Regions from separate parts of the Homo sapiens genome. Here region 1 is linked to region 2. The links are contacts of gene promoters, found by promoter capture Hi-C in blood cells and fetal thymus (Javierre and others, 2016). All regions are on one chromosome and are shown on one strand. Each heading gives the region's core, a stretch centred on a gene start or on the middle of the fragment in contact. The rest is flanking DNA. Distances are from core to core; before and after follow the strand shown. Region 1 holds the start of LINC00102 (long intergenic non-protein coding RNA 102). Region 2 holds the start of PPP2R3B (protein phosphatase 2 regulatory subunit B''beta).

Region 1 (5,258 bases), core at 2,203-4,702, 2.2 Mb after region 2:
CCACCTAATGCCCCCAAACCAAAGCCAGATCCAAACCCCAACCGACCTGGTTTCACTGGTAAGAGCCTCTAACCCTACGGGTGGTCTCTATATTGTTTATTGTAACTTTATTTTATACTTATTCATAAGAATATTAATTCACATTTTCTCATGTTTTCTCATTTCTATCATATGACATTTACTGACAAATACTATTCTATCTAAATATATAATAAAATACATTAATTCCTTTAATCCCTAATGTTGAAAACATTGTGTCTTCTGACATTTTAGAATTATGAATTACAAAGCCAATTTGAGTCAACTTTGTCTACTCTTTTTCATTCCTTTGAAGAGATTTCTGGCATTCAAATTGTCTAGATCAATGCTCATGAGTACTTTTATAGCTTTTAACCTGGTTGGTTGTTTGCCCCAGAATTGCACCAATTTGATTTGATACCAGGGTGTCTGCAAATGTCCCTGTCTTCGAACCTTTTCCAGTAGCAATTATCACCTACAAAACCTTTGTCAAATAGTGTAATTATTATATCAAACCGGTCTTAGTTTTACATCTCTCATTCTGAAATGTAAAAAGCATAATGCATCCCAATGGGCCACGGAGACTTCTTCTTTTGTGTATTGGATGCTTTGGCTTTGATCCTTCAATTCATGGTGCCCGCCACCAGGCCCAGCTCATTTTTGTATTGTTAGTAGAGATGGGGTTTCACCATGTTGGCCAGGCTGGTCTGGAACTCCTGACCTCAGATGTTCTGCCTGCCTCAGCCTCCCTACCTACTGATGTATGAGCCTTCTTCAGTGATTTATCAATATTAAAGATTACCAGCCACTTATTATGAAAATGGTTTTGCACTTTATTTTTGCCTTTGAATATTTTTAACAGGAATGTTTTACAAGTGGTATGTTTATTTTTTTATGGTGTCTTATGTTTGTGTGGATATCCTGCTTTTTGTAACTTTTTTTCCTTTTAAATTGAGAATCATTTTGCTATTGTCCCTTCTCTTCAGAGAAGTAAAACCTTCTTTTTAATTTCATTTGAATTGTTTATCACCATAGGTTGATTGAAGGAATGGTAACACGTTTTCAATGTTGAGTTTTTTCTTTTATTTTCTTTCCTTTTTTTATTTTGGAGACAGAGTCTCTCTCTGTCGCCCGGGCTGGAGTGCAGTGGCGTGATCTTGGCTCAGTGCAACCTCCACTTCCTGGGTTCAAGCAATTCTCGTGCCTCAGCCTCCCAATTAGCTAGGATTACAAACATGCACCACCATGCCCGGCAAATTCTTGTATTTTCAGTAGAGACGGGGTTTTGCCATGTTAGCCAGGCTGATCTTGAACCCCTGACCTCAGGTGATCCGCCCATCTCAGCCTCTCAAAGTGCTGGGATTACAGGTGTGAGCCACCATGCCGGCCTGAGCTTTTTCTTTGAGATTCGATTTGTCTCTTCCTCTTGTTGATTCTGTCAATGGGTTTCTAAAGTGTTTTTTCCTTGTTTTTGTTACTCTGAATCCATTTTCATGTCCACTATTTTTCTGTTTATTTCTGTCATGTAGAAGAGATTGTGTATATATTTTTTGCAATCCATGAAATGATGACCCTTTGTTAAATTTCAATTTTTTTTCTCTTCATTTCTGACCTTTTCTAAGAAGTTGGTCATGTTATTTGGTAATGGGTTTTTAAAATTTTCCCTGTTCCTAGATTTATACGTTCTCTTTACAGTTTATTTGTAATTTAGTTCTATGGCCTTTGCTAGAAGACTCAGGACAACTTTTAATATGTAGAGTTGTAAATATGGTAGACAACTTTTTTTCCAGACATTAGGACAAAAACCCAAAGAGATTCACCTTTAAATAAAATAAGTCATTTCAATAAGTGTCTTTCTCTTCTAGTATACTTTTTTTCTGAACACATAGGTTCTCATACCATGAGATTTCTTATTTCTATACAATGTATGTGAAAAATCATGTGCTTTTTATTCATTGCTTGTGTATTTTAATATGGTTTTGAAAAAAAGATTCATTTTGATGTAGCCCCTCATGTTTCTTTCATTTGAGCCTCCCTTATCACTCCCAATATAAAATGTGCCTCGACCTTAATTGGGATTTGAAAAGCTTGGAACTAGAAGGCTGGGCCAGGTAAGGTGGCTCACACCTGTAATCCCAGCACCTTAGGAGGCCAAGGCGGCTGGATCACTTGAGGTCAGGAGTTCAAGACCAGCCTGACCAACATGGAGAAACCCTGCCTCTGCTAAAAATACAAAAATTATCCTGGCATGGTGGTGCATGCCTGTAATCCCAGCTACTCGGGAGGCTGAGGCAGGAGAATGGCTTGAACCCGGGAGGCAGAGGTTGCAGTGAGCCGAGATCACACCACTGCACTCCAGCCAGGCAAAAGGACAAAACTCCATATGAAAAAAAAAAAAAAAAAGAACTAGAAGGCTGGCTTTGAAACTAGCATGAATGTCACATTAGTTTGTGGAGCCCAGCTGGGTGGGTAGAGCCACTTTTCAGACACAGATCAGAATCCGTCAGTCACAGATCAGATCACAGTCACCTGCCCTACCTCTTACGGTCTGCCTTGCTGAAGGTGTTGGGGACCTGGGAGGAGATAATGGGGAATCAACGGGACAGAGTTGTGTGCAGGCAGATTCAGAGTCCCAACTGGGTCCAGGCAGCACAGTTGATTTACAAATGACATTCTTTCTCTCTCCCTCTTTCTCTTGCTGTCATCTCTTACTCTTTTCATCTGGGGGAAGAATGATGTGAAAATGATCAGGAATTTACTTTTTCAAATGAGATCCTAGTCAGTGTGATATTCAGAAAAGTCTTTAGTCATGTGGGTCTCTGGTGATTTCTCCATCTGTTTCCGAGGTCATTCCTTCCTCATTTCTCAGAGCTTTACTATGAACAGACCGATTCCTTCCTTTAGGGGCAGACTTTGACTTAGCAGATGCCTTTGGTGAGGGAGGAAACAGTGAGTAACTCGTTAAAGTCTCCTCTGTTGCTGATTTGTTATTGTCACCAAATGACTGTCATTTCCAAGAGACTTATCTCTTTTGCATAATCCATGGATTGGGTTTATACAGTGGAAATATTGGAAGTATATGCCTTGTTGTGTTTTATTTTTGTTGTTGTTGGATTTTTGTTTTTTTTCCCACCAATATGCTGGCTTTTATTTTAAAATTGTTACAGACTTTGGAATGATATAAGGCAAATGTCACTTCCCTGGCCAGGTCAGACTTCATGGGCATGTGACATGTGATGTCACACAGGGACCTGTGCATACAAGGGCACCATATTGGTGTATTACTCAGTAGCTGCCATCTTGAAATTCGTCATAAAATTGGAACAGAATCTTGCATTTTCATTTTGTGCAGGGCCTCTCAAATTCTGGAGGTGGTCTGGACACCTGGCTTAGTTTTCTTTGAAAATACTTGAAGTTAAATCCTGTAGCTGGAAGATGATGGAAGGGAATTGGCAGGAGGCTATGTGTATGGGCATCCCCACCACGACAAAAACAAGGGTCATTTTTTACCTGTTTAGTGAAAGGTCTCTATGCAAATTGATTTTTCATTTCCTTTTCTGGTCGCCATGGAAATTGATTTTTCATTTTCTTGACTGCAAGGCACTGATGATCGCCAACTCTCATGTTTTACAAACAGGTGACCCAGCACCACCTAATCCCCCCAAACCAAAGCCAGATCCAAATCCCAACTGACCTGGTTTCACTGATAAGAGCCTCTAACCCTACGGGGTGGTCTCTATGTTGTTTACCTGGCAGTGATGTCCGTGTCATCTGAGAAGAGGAGATTTCAGGTGAGCCTGTTCCTACTGTTGAATTACAAGGTAATTCCAGTGTTCAAGTAGTGGAAAACCTAGATTACGAAAATATGTTTTTGGTTTGGATTTTATTTTCCTTTTCTTGATTTTACTTCAAAGATAAATGGAACTTCCAAATCATTGAATAAGAGCTTTTAGATGTAGACTTGATATGAGGAAAAGAATCTGTGTGTTTCCCATGGAGAAGCCAACTTGTTTTAAACAATTAGATTTTTACTGAGTGTTTTTCTTTACATGTTTGTTTAATTTTTAACACAGAAATCTATCCAGATGGTCTAAATCCTGTTGACATTTTTATGGTTTTTTGCTGGTTATGTTATTATTGGCATAAGAATATTCCTTGACCATTTTCTCATGTCATTTAATCGTTTGTATCATACGACTTTACATTATTATACTACAGACTTAATTACATACTTTGGTTTCTTTAAGTAATCCCTAATTCTGAAGTTATGTTTCTTCTGATGTTTTGGAATTATCAATTACAAAGCAAATTTGACTGCCCTTCATGCACTTTCCTTTATGTTTGAAGATATATTTCTAGAGTGCAAGTTGTTTACATCGATGTGTGTGAGTACTTTTGTAGCTTCTGACATGGTTTTGAAATTGCCCCAGAATTGCACCAATTTATTTTGATGGCGGCGGGGTGTGCAGATGACCCTTTCCTCACACCGTCTCCGATATTGGTGTTCACCAAAACATCTTTATCCAGTAGTGCAAAATGTCATGCTAACCTTGTCTTAGTTTCACGTCTTTAATTCTGAAACTTGAAACAAAAACAATGCATCAGTGGGCCATGGAGACTTCTTCTTCTGTGTATGGGATACTGTGTCTTTTATTCTTCTATTCTGGTATGTCCTCCCTGATTTCTAGTCATTTTTGAATTATTTATAGACAGTAAACATTGCCCAATATATTATGAAAATGTGTTTCCACTTTATTGTTGCCTCTGAAAACATTTTGAACAGAAGCTTTTATAAGCAAGGCTTGAATTTTTCTTTTTTATGTTGTCTTAGGTTTGTGTGAGTTTCCACCTTTGTGTAACACATTTTTCCTTTTAACAGAACCATTTTATCACTGTCTCTCTTCCTTCTTGGGAAAAAGAAAACCATCTTTTTCTTTTCATTTGCATTACTTACAACTATGAATTGATTTATAGAGTGCTAAAATATTTGTAAAATCGAGCAGATTCTTCTGTGTGCCTTTTTCTCCTGGTGATTTATTTAAATGGATTTCTAAGGTGTTTTCCCGTCAGTATTGATTTGTTTTGGTGAGTACGATTTTATGTGCGCTATTTGTCTCTCTGTTTCTGAACTATAGCAACATTTTTGTGCATTCTCTCTTACTCTCCACTGAATGATGAACCCTTGTGAACTTCCAATTGTTTTCTCTTCATTTCTTAATGTTTCTGAGAAGACCGACATA
Region 2 (5,186 bases), core at 1,942-4,441:
TAGTCCCAGCTACTTGGGAGGCTGAGGCAGGAGAATGGCGTGAACCCGGGAGGCGGAGCTTGCAGTGAGCCGAGATCGCGCCACTGCACTCCAGCCTGGGGGACAGAGCGAGACTCCGTCTCAAAAAAAAAAAAAAAAAAAAAAAAAAAAAACCAAAAAAACAAAAAAACAACTAAGTTCCCAGTCATGACTGGATGGGAGTTTGGACACACCTTATTATACCCCTCCTGCTTTGGCAGTTTAAACACAACCAACCAGCAAAAAGGTTAAAATCAACATCGTAAGACTGACAGAACAGACTCTGTGGCAAACAAGACCAAGGGCCACCTGAGGTGAGGGTTAAGTCACACACCGCCTACACTTAAAGAATAAACTACAGTTCCAACTGCCAAAGCATTTCTTTTTCTCCAGCAGCTAAATGTCCTTTTAGGTTATTCACTAGAGACCTCTGCAGAAACTCGTTTTTGAGATTCAAGAAGTAAATAAAGGATGTTTTTCTTTTTCTCTATTGCTTATCTTGGCCTCAAGCTCGCGCACGCAAGAAGACTCTCTCTCTCTCTCTCTCTCTATATATATATATATACTTTTTTTTTTTTTTTGAGACAGGGCCTTCCTCTGTTGCTCAGGCTGGTGAGCAGTGGTGCAATCTCAGCTCACAGTAATCTCCGACTCCCAGCTTCAAGCATTTCTCCTGCCTCAGCCTCCTGAGTAGCTGAGACTTCAGGTGCGCCACCACGCCTGGCTAATTTGTGTATTTTTAGCAGAGATGGGGTTTCGCCATGTTGCCCAGGCTGGTCTCGAACTCCTGAACTCAAGTGATCTGCCTGCCTCCAACTCCCAAATGCTGGAATCACAGGCGTGAGTCACCATGCCTGACCAATATAAACAATATTAAAACACCTGCAGCTTCCTGTCAGATCCTGATGAACAGACCCCTCTGTTCCACCAGCCGTAACTACAGCTTTGACTGGGAAAAGACTGATTCCAGGCCAGGTGTGGTGGCTCACGCCTGTCATCCCAGCACTTTGAGAGGCTGAGGCGGGTGGATCACCTGAGGTCAGGAGTTTGAGACCAGTCTAGCCAACAAGGTGAAAGCCTGCCTCTACTAAAAATACAAAAATTAGCCGGGGGTGGTGGTGTGCGCCTGTAATCACAGCTACTCGGGAGGCTGAGGGAGGAGAATCGCTTGAACCCGGGAGGCGGAGGTTGCAGTGAGCTGAGATTGCACCATTGCATCTCAGCCTGGGTGAGAGTGAGAATCTGTCTCAAAAAAAAAAAAAAAAAAAAAAAACTGATTGCAATCACTTTATCCTGGTAACTACTCACCACGGACTGGTTCTGGCCGGTTGACAGAGGCTGCAGAGTTGCTTCACCTTTTGACCTAGGGGGCCTAACCATAATGCATTTAAATGTTAAGTCTCCGCTCCAAGGTGAACTCGGGAGTAGGTAACATGCATGTTTGTTCAATACCCATGCGTCAGGACACCCTTGGTGAATATCCATAGCTCTTCCTATAACTTCTTGAATATATACACTTGGCCAACCCACTCAGCATAAATTCCCGTCTCATCTTTTCTTCCCTCCAAGTGCTTGTTTTTAGTTTTCTTTTTTTTTTTTTTTTTTTTTTTTTTGAGATGGAGTCTTGCTCTGGTGCCCAGGCTGGAGTGCAGCCTCTGCCTCCTGGGTTCCAGTGATTCTCCTGCCTCAGCCTCCCGGGTAGCTGAGATTACAGGTACATTAGCCAGAGGCTGCGCTTCTCACCTGCGGTGTATAATCACCTTCTATGAAATAAATGGCGTTTCTTCTAAGAAATACAGTGGGATTTTGGGAGGCCGAAGCGGGAGGATTGCTTGGACCCAGGAATTCCAGAGCACTCTAGGTAACATAGCAAGACCTCGTCTCTGCAAAAATAAATAAATAAATAAATAAACAAAAATTAGCCTGGCGTGATGGTGCACGCCTGTAATCCCAGCTACTGGGGAGGCTGAGGCAGGAAGTCCAACTGTGTTTGCGCCACTGCACTCCAGCCTAGGAGACAGAGCAAGACCCTGTCTCCAAAGAATTGTAAAATAAATAAAAAACGGACCAGGCGCAGTGACTCACGTCTGAAATCCCAGCACTTTGGGAGGCCAAGGCGGGAGGATCACTTGAGGTCAGGAGTTCGAGACCAGCCTGGCCCACATGGGGGAAACCCAGTCTCTACTAAAAATACAACATCAGCCAGGCGTGGTGGCACGTGCCTGTAAGTCCCAGCTCCTCGGGAGCCTGAGGCAGGAGAATCGCTTGAACCTGGGAGGCAGAGGTTGCAGTGAGCCAAGATCGCGCCATCGTACTCCAGCCTGGGCAACAGAGCAAAACTCTGTCTCAAAATTAAAACAAATTAAAATAATAAAATAAAATAAAATAGGAAGCCTTTCTACCTTTATAAATTGTGTGATTTTTAGGTTAACAACTGTCAATGACGGAATGTTCAGTACGTGGGACTTTCTTGTCTGTATGTGTGTGGTGGGGGGGGTCGGGGCGGGGAACAGACTCAATATGAAACCGTTTTGGGGTCTGACGCTCGCCCACCAGCCTCCATCGCGCAGCCACACGCCCACTATGCGACCAGAGCCACCTGCGCAGTTGTTAGCAGAAGGAAGAGTAACTTACTACTCTCGTCCCTGCGGATCTACGGGTGCCTCGAACGTGGGGCGCGTTCCTGGGGCTGGAGGCGGCGCCCAGGGGCAGCGCAGGGCCCGGCCCGGGGGTTCCCGGGGGTTCGAGCCCGCTGGGCCGGGGGGCGGCGAGCGGGGCTGTGGGCCAGGCCCCGGGCTGCTCCCCGTCCCCCGGGGTCGGCTGGTCCCGCCCGGGCGCCTTGATCCGGCGCAGGCAGTCCTGCAGCATCCGCTGCGTGCTGGCCTCGCTGAGCCAGTACAGGAACAGCTCGTCCACCTTCATCTTCAGGACCGGCTGCAGCACTTTGCCGGGCGGCATGGCGGGGGCTGGGCCCGCGGCGCCCCCGGACGCCCGCGCCCCGCCCCGCCCCGGGGGCTTCGGTCCGCCCCGGACCGACCTCGGTGATGCGAGCACGGCCCGCTGAGGGGGCGCGGCGCAGGGAACAGGGCCCGCGCCTCGGGAACTGCGCGGACTCGCGGGGCGCGGGGACCGAGGAGGGGGCGCGGTCCGGCCCGCGCTGCTCAGGGCAGCTTCAAAACGGGCGCGCCGGCCGCGCTCCCAAACAAGGGCGCCCGCGTTCACGTCACTGCGTCGCGTCATCGCGACGATGTCATCACGAGGCGACGCCGCCGCTAGCCACGCGCGCCCCGCGGCCCTCGGAGCTTTTGCAGGAGGCTTTGGTGGGGCCGAGCGGCTGCGGTGAGGACGAGGGAGGGGCTGTGGCGGCCGTACCGCCCGAGCTCTTTCTGCGTTTAGGATTTTTAGAGGCGCGGCCCATGGCGGCGTGGCAGTCCTAGAGCTGCGGAAATGCGAGCATGCGCAATGCGTGCCTGCCAGAGCGAGGAGAGGGTGGAACCTCCGCATGGAGCATGCGCCGTGCATAGCGGTGGAGGAGCGGAGTTCGGGAGGCCGGTCGGGTGAGCGTGCGCAATGGCTGCCCGCGGGGCGCAAGCCAGAGGCTGGGAGGTGTGTGAGCGGGTGGGGCTGGAGGACGGGAGTGCGCCTGCGCAGTGGGAGGCACCGGGAACGAGCGAGCATGCGGGGTGCGCGCCCGCCGAGCTCGGGAGCGAGCGTGCGTCCTACGGGAGCGCGCGAGGAAAAGATCAAACTTTTCAATAACAGCGGGCTACCTGGGACCCAAAGGGCCCCGTTTACTTTAGCTTTGCTTATCAAACAGTAGAGACAGGTTGGAGGAGTTGGACCCCTTTAAACGTTGGTGTTCAGGGATGAGCGTGAAGTGCGTTGAAAATTGCAAAAATCATCCACGTCCAGGGAGGTGACATTAGTTAAATAACTTTACCCAATGGTCGTTTTTGTTTCTGCTTTTAACAGTATCCATAAAAACACTGCATTATCATCTGTCTGGCACACATGCACCTGTTTCCTTTACATCTTGCCCCGCTTTTTATTCATTTTTTATCAAAATAGGGTTTCACCTGGTGTTGCACCCTGTTAGAGAGTAATTTCAAGGTCTTTTATGAGCCAGGTTCTCCTACTTCTGAGCTGCATAAATCGAGCCAGACTCAATAAGTAACCCTTGGCCGGGCGCGGTGGCTCAAGTCTGTAATCCCGGCACTTTGGGAGGCTGAAGCGGGCAGATCACGAAGTCAGGAGTTCGAGACCAGCCTGGCCAGCATAGTGAAACCGCCCCCACCATCTCTACTAAAAATAGAAAAATTAGCCGGGCATAGTAGCGTGTGCCTGTAGTCCCAGCTACTCGGGAGGCTGTGGCGGGAGAATTGCTTGAACCCAGGAGGTGGAGGTTGCAGTGAGCTGAGATCACACCATTGCACTCCAGCCTGGGCGACAGAGCCAGACTTTGTCTCAAAAAAAAAAAAAATAACTCTTTTTTTAGTTTTATTTTTTTTTTGAGTTGGAGTCTCGCTCTGTCGCCCAGGCTGGAGTGCGATGGCAAGATCTCAGCTCACTGTAACCTCCGCCTCCCGGGTTCAAGGGATCCTCCTGCCTCAGCCTCCCGAGTAGCTGGGATTACAGGCGCCCGCCACCACGCCTGGCTAATTTTTGTATTTTTGGTAGAGACAGGGTTTCACCGTATTAGCCAGGATGGTCTCGAACTCCTGACCTCAAGTGATCCACCCGCCTCGGCCTCCCAAAGTGCTGGGATTACAGGCGTGAGCTACCACGCCCGGCCTAAATAACTCTTTTTGTTCGTATGAGACAGGGTTTTGCTCCGTCACCCAGGCTGCGATCTTAGCTGAGTGCAGCCTTGATCTCCTGGCTCAAGCGATCCTCCCACCTCAGCCTTCCAAGCAGCTGGGACAACAGGCATGCGCCACCATGCCTGGCTCATTTTTAATTTTATTGTTTATAGAGACGAGGTGTTGCTGGTCTCACACTCCTGGCCTCAAGCAATCTTCCTGCCTTTGCCTCTGTCTCTGCCTCCCAAAGCGTTGGGATTACAGGCGTGAGCCACCGCACCCGATTTAAATCACTCATAAACGATAGTTTTGTGTTGTGTACATAATGATTTGAATTTCAGTTTGTGTTTCGTGATTGGATATAAAAAT

The links. The method cuts DNA at HindIII sites, captures the fragments that hold promoters and counts their contacts. A CHiCAGO score of 5 or more calls a contact.
Region 1: a fragment that was not itself captured here is called in contact with the fragment with the promoter of PPP2R3B in region 2 in 1 of 17 cell types (total CD4 T cells); the score reaches 5.2 in total CD4 T cells.

The regions. Positions count from the first base shown.
Region 1 is chrX:2,612,161-2,617,418 of GRCh38, forward strand. LINC00102 (long intergenic non-protein coding RNA 102) reads right to left here and starts at 3,187. Exons shown (of 2, transcript NR_037842.1): 1 at 2,557-3,187; 2 at 831-1,536. It also overlaps the pseudogene CD99P1. The HindIII fragment of the contact is 2,699 bases long and covers 2,104-4,802 here.
Region 2 is chrX:383,716-388,901 of GRCh38, forward strand. It overlaps PPP2R3B (protein phosphatase 2 regulatory subunit B''beta), which reads right to left and starts at 3,192. Exons shown (of 13, transcript NM_013239.5): 1 at 2,653-3,192. The coding sequence starts at 2,976. The HindIII fragment of the contact is 20,425 bases long and covers 1-5,186 here.